Regions from separate parts of the Homo sapiens genome. Here all the other regions are linked to region 1. Evidence: promoter capture Hi-C in human tissues and cell types (Jung and others, 2019). All regions are on one chromosome and are shown on one strand. Each heading gives the region's core, a stretch centred on a gene start or on the middle of the fragment in contact. The rest is flanking DNA. Distances are from core to core; before and after follow the strand shown.

The links. The method cuts DNA at HindIII sites, captures the fragments that hold promoters and counts their contacts. A contact is called where the count stands out against the background at its distance.
Region 2: a contact is called between a fragment that was not itself captured here and the fragment with the promoter of SLC25A42 in region 1, in 1 of the 25 tissues and cell types used here (stomach).
Region 3: a fragment that was not itself captured here is called in contact with the fragment with the promoter of SLC25A42 in region 1 in 2 of the 25 tissues and cell types used here (dorsolateral prefrontal cortex and spleen).
Region 4: a contact is called between a fragment that was not itself captured here and the fragment with the promoter of SLC25A42 in region 1, in 1 of the 25 tissues and cell types used here (dorsolateral prefrontal cortex).
Region 5: the fragment with the promoter of FKBP8 here is called in contact with the fragment with the promoter of SLC25A42 in region 1 in 2 of the 25 tissues and cell types used here (dorsolateral prefrontal cortex and spleen).

Annotation. Positions count from the first base shown.
Region 1 is chr19:19,062,728-19,065,253 of GRCh38, forward strand. SLC25A42 (solute carrier family 25 member 42) reads left to right here and starts at 1,267. Exons shown (of 8, transcript NM_178526.5): 1 at 1,267-1,388. LOC124904655 (a long non-coding RNA gene) reads right to left here and starts at 798. Exons shown (of 3, transcript XR_007067160.1): 1 at 463-798. RefSeq lists silencers at 739-908, 1,169-1,438. The HindIII fragment of the contact is 11,421 bases long and covers 1-2,526 here.
Region 2 is chr19:19,892,962-19,895,487 of GRCh38, forward strand. ZNF253 (zinc finger protein 253) reads left to right here. Exons shown (of 4, transcript NM_021047.3): 4 at 1-1,713. Among named protein-coding and RNA genes, the nearest start is that of ZNF93, 6.7 kb to the right of the region's middle. The HindIII fragment of the contact is 4,796 bases long and covers 1-2,526 here.
Region 3 is chr19:18,484,956-18,487,481 of GRCh38, forward strand. The region is part of intron 1 of ELL (elongation factor for RNA polymerase II); the gene reads right to left. Among named protein-coding and RNA genes, the nearest start is that of ELL, 36 kb to the right of the region's middle. RefSeq lists an enhancer at 512-1,097. The HindIII fragment of the contact is 6,018 bases long and covers 1-2,526 here.
Region 4 is chr19:18,510,954-18,513,479 of GRCh38, forward strand. All of the region lies in intron 1 of ELL (elongation factor for RNA polymerase II), which reads right to left. Among named protein-coding and RNA genes, the nearest start is that of ELL, 9.9 kb to the right of the region's middle. The HindIII fragment of the contact is 5,853 bases long and covers 1-2,526 here.
Region 5 is chr19:18,542,323-18,544,848 of GRCh38, forward strand. It overlaps FKBP8 (FKBP prolyl isomerase 8), which reads right to left and starts at 1,251. Exons shown (of 9, transcript NM_012181.5): 1 at 1,164-1,251. RefSeq lists a silencer at 1,067-1,496. The HindIII fragment of the contact is 12,332 bases long and covers 1-2,526 here.

The sequences.
Region 1 (2,526 bases), core at 17-2,516:
CACATGACCTGCTCAGGGTCAAATGCTTTCACCAGATAATTAAAATGAGAGCTGAGTTGTAAATTTTCCCAGGGAAGCAACCCCAGAGAGGAAAGATCAAGGCATAGGAATCATTTTCCCCCCTCTTTTCCAAATGAAACAGCTGAGGCTCACAAGGGCTTTTGCCCAAGGTTGTGTGGTGGGCCAGTGATTGGACAAGGATTCAAACCCAGGTCTCTGAGGCCCCCAGTGGCTCTTCTCTGACACACTCTTTCCAAAAAGCAGGCTGCTCTAGATTCATTCTCTGGTTTAGCAACCAGAGAATGCTGTGTAACCTTGGGCAAGGAGCTTGACCTCTCTGTGCTCTGGTTTCTGTAAAAGGAGCCAGTGGTCTCTCTGACCTCATGGGATTGTGGTTAAGATTCAGTTAATTCAAAAAAAGACTTGGCAGGGAGAAGGCCCAACAGGGATGTCACTGGATACCGTGGCGGGGAAAGCTGGGACGCAGAGAGGTCAGACACTCAGAAAACCACGCAGCGCGTTTCAGTAGGATTCCGCCCCTTATTTCCATGTCTTCACACCACCTCGAGATGGAGAGGGCAGTTCAGAGTGACCTCCAGCGAATCTGCCCTCTCCGTGTCGTCTGCAGGGGATTAGTGGGGAGTAAGGGGATAGAGAATTATCCAGGAGTCCTTCAGCCTTGATGGTCCAAGTTCACATCCGCTTCTGTGCTAGGTGGCCAGAGGGCGGGCTCTACACGAGAGCCTCAGGGGACCCTGCGCCAGGCGTCCGAGGCCACGTCGGGTTGCCGCGCTCCGGGTCGGACTGCACCTTGAACGCTCCAGCCCTCCCCTGGGGGCGTACCGCCCACGGCCGCTGCGACTGGCCGCGGGGCCTGCCAGTCTTCGGCTTTGCGGCCAATCCCGGTCTCCCCCCAAGCTACGCCCTCCGTTCCTCTCGCCTCTGCCCCACCGGTAGCGCCAGTTTCTTCGTAGCCCCGCCCCTGGCCCCCAGCGATTGGCCGACAGTTCTGCCTGTTTTCTGCCAAGATTCCAATCCTCGCCTGCCTCCAGGCCCTCGCCTCCCAGCGCCTAGCACCCTGAGGGACCACTCAGGCACCCCAGGCCTCTCCCAATAGCCCCACCTCTGCCAATCAGCGATTGGCTTTAGGGGCTGCCCATCTGCTTCATACTCGCCAATCACTGTCGCTTCCAGCGCTGACTGGCCAGGGAGCAGCCAATCGGGGCGTGGCGTGGACCCCTCCCGTGGCGCGCTCTGGGGGTGCGCGAGGCGGGGCCGTGGCGGCTGGAGGTAGCGGCGGCGGCGACGCGTCCGGGCCGGTGAGGGGGCGCGGGGGGCGCCGGGGGGGCCCAAGCGTCAGCGGCCCGCGCCTGTCGGGCTGAACTGAGGTGAGGCACGGGTCCTGTCATGGATCCCGGGGCGAGGGGCGGATGAGGCGGGGCATGACAGTAGCGTCGCGAGGGCAGGAAGAGGTTAAAGACCCCCCCCAACCCCACACTCCACGTCTACTGCCCCCTGGGGGCTACTGCATCCAGGTTTGAGCCCGTCACCCGCAGTCCACGCACGCCTGACACCACGTCCCTTTTCGTTGACATCCCCCATACACTTTAGACTGTCCTTGCTGACATCTCCCACACCCCTGGGGCCTTGTCCCCGGCGCCCCGCACAGCTGGGTCTGACATCCCCCTCACACACCTGACACCGCGCCCCCACTCACGAACACCCGCCCCCACTCACGAACACCCCCCACATCACCTGAGTCTGTCCTTGTCGATGACACCCCCACACCCACACCTGAGCCTGTGACTCCTAACTCATGGCCTCGCAACTCACACCTGGACCTAGTCCCGTCCCCCACTGCCTTTCCTCATATCCAGGTATCTGCTCGCTACTCTCGTGCCCACTCCCCCAGCAACCTGTGTCTCTCTTCTCAGGGACCTTCCCCCTGGCACCTGCCCTCTGCCCTGGCAGCCCCACACCTCTGTCTCCCCCTTTTCTCTCTCCCACCTTGGGCTTTCTTCCACGTGCACCTGTGTTCGCACACCCTCTGTAATAATCCCCCCGAATCCCCCAGGTCCTCCAATAGTCCCCCAAGCCTTGGTATCTCAGGATCGCTGCACCCTCCCCTCCCCAAACAAAAGCTTACCCCAGTGTTCATTTCTAACAGTGCTTGACAGTCTATAAAGTGATTTCCGGACCTTAGAATAATCCCATCTGTCAGACCAAACCGGAATCATCTCCATTTTACCAGCCACAGACCTAAACCACTTGAATGCTAGAGGCAGAGCCTATTCTACCCTGGGCATCGCTGACCCTCTGCTGTGGACCCACCGCGTTTGGGCCCATCTGTTATGTTTATCTCAGAGGGATTGGCAGGAGTCGTGACTTTGACTGGGTCCGGAAAGGCTTAGCTGGAAGGGACGGCCCCTCTGCCAAGCGTGTGTCTCGGAGTCCTGGGGCAGGCTGGCGGTGGAGACGCTGCCGGAGGAGGGGGGCTCATCATCTTGGGTGCCTCCTGCAGGATGC
Region 2 (2,526 bases), core at 15-2,514, 830 kb after region 1:
AACCTATAACAAGTTCTCAATTCCTTTTTTTTTGAGATGGAGTTTCACTCTTGTCACCGAGGCTGGAGTGCAATGACATGATCTCCGTTCACTGCAATCTCTGCCTCCTGGGTTTAAGCCATTCTTCTGCCTCAGCCTCCCAAGTAGCTGGGATTACAGGTGCCCAACACCACGCCTGGCTAATTTTTGGATTTTTAGTAGAGATGGGGTTTCACAATGTTGGCCAGGCTGGTCTCGAACTCCTGACCTCAGGTGATCCACCTGCCTTGGCCTTCCAAAGTGCTGGGGTTACAGGCGTGAGCCACCATGCCTGGCTACAAGTTCTTAATTCTTAAGAGACACCATGCCTGGCTACAAGTTCTTAATTCTTAAGAGACATGGCGATAATTCATGCTGAAGAGGAAATCTGGAAACCTGAAAGATGCGACATTGCTTTTACCAACACCTCCACATTTCCTATACATAAAAATAAATTATACTAGTGTAATACCCTAGAAATGTATAAAATGTGACAAAGCCTTTATATGATTGTCATACATGATTGTAGGTGATAGAAGTCATACTGCCAAAACTCCTGTAAGTGTGAAGAATGTGGCAAAATATTTTATTAGTGCTTATACCTTATTTCACAGGAAAGCTCTTATCCTTGAGAAAAATTGTGCAAATACAAAGAATATGGAAAAACCATTAATGCCTACTCACATCTTACTGAACAGAAGAAGGTTCATAGTTAATAAAGCATTAAAAGTGCAATTACTGTCAAAAAATCTTTCAGAAAATAGAAGTCTTTAAAGTGAAGAATATTTATTCTGAAGACAGCCATTACAAATATAAAGGGGGTTGTAGTGCCTTTACTTGTGTCACAGATCTTAGTGCACACATGTAGTACTAGAGGAAAACCCTGAAGCAGTTGCTCAAGCTTTGTTTCAGGGAATCAAGGGAATTTATATTGAGAATAGTACTGCAAATGTAATGAATGGAAAGACTTTTCTTTTCCAAAAATGACAGCTTAGAAAACACCAGAGGGTTTATACCAAAATATATTTTTGCAGATGCAGTAAATATCAAAAAATATTTAATTCAAAATTGATTCTATGTAAATATCAGAGAATTTTCCATAGAATAATTAAGGCACTGACACTTCAGACATTACACTAAATCAGAATGTTCAGTATAAAAACTAATCCACAGCTACAGCTGTTAGATAAATTATTTCTATATAATTTTTTAAAAAGTGGATTTTTGAAGCACTGTAATTACATTGAAAGTATACTTGTTTTCTTGAAAAAATTTTTTTGAAAAGTGAATAATGATATAATACAGCTTTCACATTGCTTTATGCTATTTTATTCCTATTATATTCACATGTGAAAGCATGTGATCAATTGTTGCTGCATTAGAGATATTAGAGATTGTTTTTTATTAGTTGGGCATTATGTATGACCTTTTCTATAAAAGAGTAAGGACATTAAAATGTAAGATGCATGATGAAAATATAAGTGGAGAGGCTCTTTGTAGTTAACTGATATTAAGTAATGTGTAAGGTGGGGGTTCATGTTCTCATTTCTATAATCCTAGCCAATGACTTAATGTTGATGCTTTGAATGTCTTTTGGATGGTCTAACCTACATTAACATGTATGCGGAACATCTTAAAACTTTTTTTCAAAAATCATAATGAATTATTTTATTAATAAGCAAAGATAAAAAATAAGGTGGGGTTTCAGAGTAATGCTTTTCTACATTATAGTGACAGAAAGAAATTATTAATTATAGTTAAAAATATTAAAATACAGCCAGGTATATTTATTGGTTTAGACAGGTTTTAATATAATATTTATGGTTCTTTAAATATAAAGTTGTATGGGATGGGTGCAGTGGCTCATGCCTGTAATCCTAGCACTTTGGGAGGCTGAGGCAGATGGATCACTTGAGGTCAGGAGATCGAGACCAGCCTGACCAACACTGAGAAACCCCACCTCTACTAAAAATACAAAAATTAGCTGGGCATGATGGCACATGCCTGTAATCCCAGCTATTCAGGAGGCTGAGGCAAGAGAATTGCTTGAACGTGGGAGTTCTCAGATTACAGGTGTGCGCCACCATGCCTGGTTAATTTTTGTATTTTTAGTAGAGACGGGGTTTCACCATGTTGGCCAGGCTGGTCCCATACTCCTGACCTGAAGTGATTCGCCCACCTCGGCCTCCCAAAGTGCTGGGATTACAGGCATAAGCCACCGCACCCTGCCTATTTTTTTCTTACTGAAATTTATTATTAGTATTTGTGGGTATATTGTATGTGTATATATTTATGCCTTATATGGTATATTTTGATTCAGGCATACAATATGTAGAAATTTCATTAGGGTAAATAAGATATCCGTCACCTCTAGCGTTTATCATTTGTATTACAAACAGTGTAATTATACACTTTTAGTGCATAATTTAATGAAGCAGGTGGATTGCCTGAGGTCAGGAGTTCAAGATCAGCCTGGCCAATATGGTGAAACCCCGTCTCTACTAAAAA
Region 3 (2,526 bases), core at 21-2,520, 580 kb before region 1:
AAGGGACTGACCTAGGTCACTGGGGTCCTCCAGGGCACAGCATGGGCCTCTCCTAGCCCTGGGTTCCTGACGTTTCTGAGGTGAATGAGAACGCTCTAGGGCCTGACATGGGCCATCCCCTCATCAGAGCCCAGGCCAGGCCTCTGTGGGGGTTGGGTCCCTGAGAATGCAGCTCTGCCTTGCCACTGTGCTTCCTGCTCAGGCAGCTAGGAGGTCCCAAACCCCATTCACCTCCATGGGACTATTTGGAGCCCAGCAGAAGCGGCCCATGGGCTCTCCTCTCCCCAGGAGGCCCCTCCAGGCCTCCATCTCAACTCCCCTGCAGACAAGGCCATGTGTGTGCCTTCGACCTGTCAGTCTGTAGGGCCACCTCACTTTTGGGCCTTCCAAGCTCAACTGCTATTAGAGCGCCTCCTCTCTGCCACACTCCCAAGGCCACCCGTCCTCAGCCTCACCACAGAGCAGACTGGCCCCTTCTGCCGAGCCCCAGTGCACCCAAGCTTTCCAGCTGCCTCCACCTCTCCCCTGAAAACAGCTAACACTCCACTATGGGAGCCCATCTCCTCCCAGGGCCAGGGAGACCAGGGAGACCAGGGAGACCAGGTCTGGCCCCCAACTCTAAGGCTCATCTTAGAGGCGAGATTCAGGCCCAGCCCAGGGTGCCCCATGAGGCCTGGTGGTTGGAGGCAGAGGGTATCCCTTGCCCAAATTCGTGCCACATTCACAGTCACTGGGAAAGCTACGGGGATGGGCCGGGCGCGGTGGCTCACACCTGTAATCCCAGCACTTTGAGAGCCAAGACGAGCGGATCACGAGGTCAGGAGATTGAGACCATCCTGGTTAACACGGTGAAACCCCATCTCTACTAAAAATACAAAAAATTAGCCGGGCGTGGTAGCACACGCCTATAGTCCCAGCTATTTGGGAGGCTGAGGCAGGAGAATTGCTTGAACCCAGGAGGCAGAGGTGGCAGTGAGCCAAGATCACACCACTGCACTCCAGCCTGGGCGACAGAGCGAGACTCTGTCTCAAAAAAAAAAAAAAGAAAGCAAGCTACGGGGATGAAAACAGTTAAGGCACTCTCCTGGATGCATCACGAAGCCCCTCAGCCACTGTTTCTCCCTGAGAGCACAGCCACCCCCTGCTGACCTTGGCAGGAAGCAACAAGCCCCACAGCACAAACACCCCCAGGCTGCCCTGCAGAGGGGGCTCCACCTCGGGTGGGAGCCCTGCAACCTGGGAAGGAATCTGGGGAGGGGCTTCTGTGTGAAGCTTAGCTCAGGGCCCCAAGGGCGGTCAGTGTCAGGCACTGGCTCAACAGGGGCAGGAAGAGAGAGGCTGCTGAGCACCTCGTCCTCAGGCCACTCTGCCCCGTTTCTAACAGTCTATGTACAACAGACCCACCCAAGATGTACTCTGTGACCCAGAGTGGGGGTGCGGTCCTGGGAGTGTCCACTGTGGATGTGACCCAGGTCAGAAGGAGATGGCAGCTTGCCAAGCTACCAAGGCACACACTCAGGACCCAGGAGGACCGTCCTTCCTCCTCCGGTGGTCGGCCACACTCACCAAGGCTGCCCCTGAGGCCCTCAGAGACCCAGGCGGTTCTGAGAAGGGAGCCTGTCTCTGAAGCAGAAACCACGCCCTTTCACGGGGCCCCTGTGTCACGTCAGCCGCCTGGATGATTCACAGCTCCGCACCGGACTCGGCTCTTACCGCCTCATCTCATTGTCTGCTCACTGCAACCTCTGCAAAGCACCCAAACCCCTGTCCCAGAAGATAGGCAAAGATCACAGAAAAATAAGAGGATGCCAAGAGAATCTGGCACCCTTCAAGGCATGACCCGTGGTCCCCAGCCAGTACTCACTGCAAGGGTGCTCTTAGGTCCCCTTCCCAGTTTGAACCTGCAACCTGGGAGCTGCCACATCTGGACCTCAGGGATGTGACCTTGCCAGCCACAAAGGTTGGCATCGGGTCCTGCCTGCCACCTCACCCACATGCGCCTCTGCAGCCAACCAAAGCCTTCCAAGATGCTGGCCTCCACCGTCAGCTACATGCCATGCTGACACCTCCGATGCTTCCACCACCACGCAGTGGGTAAATCCTAATCACTCAGGAACACAAAGAAGGCCCTGTGCGTGTAGACCCTGCTGCTCAGACCCCGCTACCCCCCACCAGGAGACCCCCTGAGAAAGGAGTAACTGCTTCTGAGCCATTGCCCATATGGGCTGGCATTCCCCATAAAAACCCATTGAGGGCTCCAGAGGCTTCTGGGAACATCTGGACAATCCAACCACCCCAGAGAGTAGGGTCACCCCTCAAATGGGCAGGCCCAGTGAGGACAGAGCAAGCGTTACATATGTGTCCTGAGGTGGGCATCAAGGAGGTGCCACGAGAGCCAGGCCCCAGTCTTCCTTCGTGCTTGAGGAGCAGCTGGGTTTGGGGGACAGTTGCCCTCAGCATGGCCATAAACCACCTTGAGTGCTTAGGATGCGCACAGATCCCTGAATGTGCTGTCTCAGGAAAATC
Region 4 (2,526 bases), core at 13-2,512, 550 kb before region 1:
TCTACTAAAAATATAAAAATTAGCTACGCATGGGCCGGGTGCGGTGGCTCATGCCTGTAATCCCAGCACTTTGGGAGGCTGAGGCGGGCAGATCATGAGGTCAGGAGATCGAGACCATCCTGGTTAACATGGTGAAACCCCATCTCTACTAAAAATATAAAAAATTAGCCAGGCATGGTGGTGGGCGCCTGTAGTCCCAGCTACTCGGGAGGCTGAGGTAGGAGAATGGCATGAACCCGGGAGGTAGAGCTTGCAGTGAGCTGAGATAGCACCACTGCACTCCAGCCTGGGTGACAGAGCGAAACTCCGTCTCAAAAAAAAAAAAAATTAACTTGGCGTGGTGGTGGGCGCCTGTAATCCCAGCTACTTGGGAGGCTGAGGCAGGAGAATTGCTTCAACCTGGGAGGCAGAGGTTGCAGTGAGTCAAGATCACGTCACTGCACTCCAGCCTCGGCGATCCAACAGGTCTACTTCTGGGTATGTATCCAAAAGAACTGAAAGCAGGGGTTTGAACAGATACTTACATGCCCTGTTCACAGTAGCATGGTTCACTACAGTCAAGAGGTGGAAGCAACCCAAATGCCCATGGACAGAGGAATGGATGAGCACGATGTGGTCCATCCACACCACAGGACATCAGTCTGGTTCCCTGCCCACTGCCCACCACCCACCATACCACCGGAGGGGGCCTGATGGAGAAGGTGGAAGTACAGGGGGCCCCAGCTCCCTCTGACAGTGCTGTGGGCTTTCCAGTGGGAAAATTGCTAAAGAAACCAGGAAGCTGGCCAGGCACAGTGGCTCAAGCTTGTAATCCCAGCATTTTGGGAGGCTGAGGTTGGAGGACTGCTTGAGCCCAGGAGTTCGAGACCAGCCTGCGCAACACAGTGAGACCCTGCCTCTACAAATTAAAAAAAAAAAAAGGGCCGGGCACAGTGACTCACGCCTGTAATCCCAGCACTCTGGGAGGCCGAGGTGGATGGATCATGAGGTCAGGAGTTCAAAACCAGCCTGGCCAAGATGGTGAAACCCCGTCTCTACTAAAAATACAAAAATTAGCCGGGCATGGTGGCAGATGCCTGTAATCCCAGCTACTGGGGAGGCTGAGGCAGGGGAATCGCTTGAACCCAGGGGGCAGAGGTTGCAGTGAGCCAAGATCATGCCACTGCACTCCAGTCTAGGCGACAGAGTAAGACTCCGTCTCAAAAAAAAAAAAGAAAAAAAATTAGTTGAGTGTGATAGCATATGCCTGTAGTCCCAACTACTGGGGAGGCTGAGGTGGGAGGATCGCTTGAGCCCAGGATGTTGAGGCTGCAGTGAGCTGTGATCACGTGATTGCACTCCAGTCTGGGCAACAGAGCAGAAAGCTCCGTCTCAAAAATAAAGAAATAAAAATAAAGAAACAGGCCAGGTGCGGTGACTCACGCCTGTAATCCCGGCATTTTGGGAGGCCAAGGCGGGCAGGTCGCTTCAGCTCAGAAGTTCAAGACCACCCTGGGCAACATGGTGAAACCCCATCTCTACAAAAACATACAAAAAGCAACCAGGCGTGATGATGGGTGTCTGTAGTACCAGCTATTTAGGAGGCTGAGGTGGGAGGATTGCTTGAGCCTGGGAGGCAGAGGTTGCAATGAGCCAAAACTAGGAAGCCAGTTCTCTATTTCAGAAAAAAAACAATAAAACCCTAACAGCAGAGCTATAGGAGAAGCTATTTTAAATTTTGGAGGCTTTGCTTTCTGGGATCATTTTTTGGGTCAACGAGGAGAGCAGCTGACACCTCGTGCACAGCCAGGGAGAACAAGCCTGTCTCACCTCTAGGACAACACCTTCACCTGAATTGGGAAGTTGAGGCTCAGGGAGGGTGCCAGCAGCCTGGAGCCCCAAATTGTCAGTGGGAGCAGCGCCACCAATGTACCTGATCCCCAATATGCAGTTCTCAGCATCCTTCAAGAGAGACGCCTCTTTGTGAAAACATTTTCACCAACATATAAAAAGGACACGGGGCGCAACAACAGCATCTCATGAAGAGCTGAGGCCCCCGATGGGCCTGGGGGAAGGACAGGGGTGTTAACAGTAGGGTATATACTTGCGGTCTCCCCATCTGAAGAACGGTGAGAAGGACTGACCACAGCCCTCCATCACCAGCAGCTCAATTTGTCCAAAGAGGAGCAAGCCAAGCGGGGCTGAGCTGCCTTCCCTGGCCTCAAAATCGCAGCCTCATACTCCAGGCTCCACTCACAGACACATGGGCATGCCAGGCCGTGGCCTGTGCTGGGTCACCTGCCTCACCTCACCTCATCGCTCTATGTAGCCTCACTACGGGACAGTGGACTGGCCTGTACACACACAAGGCCTGCAGCATCCGGACATCCCCAGAACCAAGCATAGTGCCAAGAACACAAAAATGCCCGAAGAATACTGACCTGTCAGGCTCCACGATGCACAGAAGGTGCAGCATTAAAACATAAAGTGTTCAGGGAAGAAGAGACGCAAAACCATATGATTGTGCCACTATGACAACACGGTACA
Region 5 (2,526 bases), core at 1-2,500, 520 kb before region 1:
TGCCCAAGGTCACAGAGAAAGCCAAAGGCCAAAGGAGGATTTGAACCTGGGGCTTCAGGCCCTGTGGCTTTGCCTGATTATAAGCTGAGCGAAGGGTGCTGGGATTTTTGTGGAGAGGACAGCCTCCGAGGCCTTAGGGAAGCCATTTTTAGAGCCTCTAAGGCCACTGGGGGAAATTGAATCTTTTACCAGGGCCTCCCACCTCCAGCCTCTTCTCCAAAGGGGAGACCCTCCCCAAAAGCACCAACTGTAATCACCCAGAAACCCCAAGCGTTTTTTCCTTCCACACTCTGAATCTAACACTATCCCCCACAACCCCAACATCAGGGACCCTGGCCCAAATCCTTCCCCAGGAGACCATCCTCCTCTCATCAGGCCTCGGTCCCACCCCCTCAAAGCAGCCTCCTTTCCAGGAGTGGTCGAGGTCCCACCACATTCTACAGCCTCTTCCTTGCCCCAGACCTCCTGAACCAATAACCAACCCCTCCGTCCCCCAGGCCCCAAGCTCAGAAGAGTGTGGCACAGCCATCAAACCAGCCCGCCGCATCCCCTCCCTAACCCTCACCTGCCTGCTCCTCCCGGGCTCGGAGCCCCACTTTGAGAGACCCTCCCAGCCCCCACCCCCATAATTCCCCGCGCCCGCACAATTCGGCCTCCCCTCCCACCCCCCACCCCAACCACCACCGCCCCCAGCACGGGCCAGCTCCCCCCACAGCCGCTCCGTCTCGCCGTAAACACTCCAGTGTCCCCAGACGCCCCCCCCTTTCCGATCCCATAACACCCCACGCTCTCCTGACGCCCCACAGCCCCGGCCGGGCCCTCAGTCAAGCCGCGACCCAGGCCCCCAACGACCCACGCCTGTCTGACGCCACCAGTCTGGGGCACCCGACCCCCGCACGCCTCGGGCGCCCCTGGCCCTGCACGCCTCCATCGGGACCCCCCCACTGGATCCCCTTTGCCCCCAGTGACCCCCATCCCTGGCCACCCCCGCCCGGCCGCGCCCCCTCGGGCACCCCCGACCCCCGTGCCCCCCCGGCTCGCCACCCCCGCGGCCCCTCGCCCCGCCCATCGGCCGCAGCCCCCGGCGCGCTAGCCCCCGGACCAGCCTAGGCCAGGGCAGCGGCCCGGCCGGCACGGCGCCCCCAGCACCCCAGGACACTTGCCTCTGGCTCCGGGACCCCCACTTGGGGTCCTGCGCCCCCCTCCCCGCCCCCAGCCGCGGCCGCCGCGCCTCGGGAACCAGGTTCGGCCGCTTGGCCCCGCCCCTGCCGTGCCCATTGGCCGCCGCTGCCGCGACTGCCGCACCCGTTGGCTCATGCAGACGTCCGTCCCGGGCGTTGGCACCTCCCCCTTCCTGCTTGGCCCCGCGGGGCGTTCTTAAAGGGACCGAAGCCTCCCGGCTGCTGGGGCTGGGGCGGGGGCTGGGGCGGGGGCTGGGGCGGGGGCTGGGGCGGGGGCGGGGGACCCTGGGCTGGACCCCAACACGGGTCAGTATCGCGCAGCCTGTGCGACTCCTGCCTCTCCTCTGAGCTTCATCCTGACCATCTGCGAAATGGGGATAAACACCCCCATCTATGCACTCTCACCTTGGGGGCTGCTGGGGGCACAGTCCACTCTAAATGTTATTTCCTTAAAGAGTTCAAGCTTGACGGGCAGGGCAGCTCTGGGGTTGCTGAATGACCCATCCTGAAGCCTTAGTTACAGAAGTGAACCTGAGGGCCTGAGGAGGAGTGACGTGCCCAAAGGCATACAGAAACCTCCCTCCCATCCCCCACACAGTTTAATGTCTAGAAGGTTGCCTGGTGCATACTGGAGGCGCTCGATTACTGCTGCGCAGGCGACTGAGCCAGCAGGGCCACTGGGAGGAGTTCCTCCTCTATGCACTGTCTGCTGGAGGGTGATAAGGTCCCCATGGCTCGGGAAGAAGGTGGCATCCTTGATTAGCTAAGTTTTTGTGGATCTTGTTTTGAAACCGGGACACTTCTCCCTCCTTCACTCAGTTTTATTTCCTTCCTAGCAGTTACTCCTTCCAGAATTATCTTGTCATTATTTTGCTTGTGGTTGGAGGGACCATCCCTCACTCTGCTTCATCCTGGCAGAGATTTTTACCTGATTTGTACCCAGCACCTCCTTGAACCATGCCTGGCATCTATAGAAGCTCAATAAATGGGTAGGTGGATGGATGGATGGATGGATGGATGGATGGATGGATGGATGAGTCAGACACCAGCTTTTGGAGGTAGCTATCATGGAGGTGGTAACTGGCTTTTTGGAGATCACTTCTAAGGTTGGAGTTCCCAGGTTACCTCCTACAGGAAGCCCTCCCAACCTCCCCAAGGCAAGACCAGGTGCCCCCTTTAGCTGTCTTGGCACAATGAAGTTGATGAACGTCCACTTCATAACTAGTTTACTTGGGTTTTTTGTTTGTTTGTTTGTTTTTGTTTTTTGAGAAGAAGTTTCACTCTTGTTGCCCAAGCTGGAGTGCAATGGCGCAATCTCAGCTCACCGCAACCGCTGCCTCCCAGG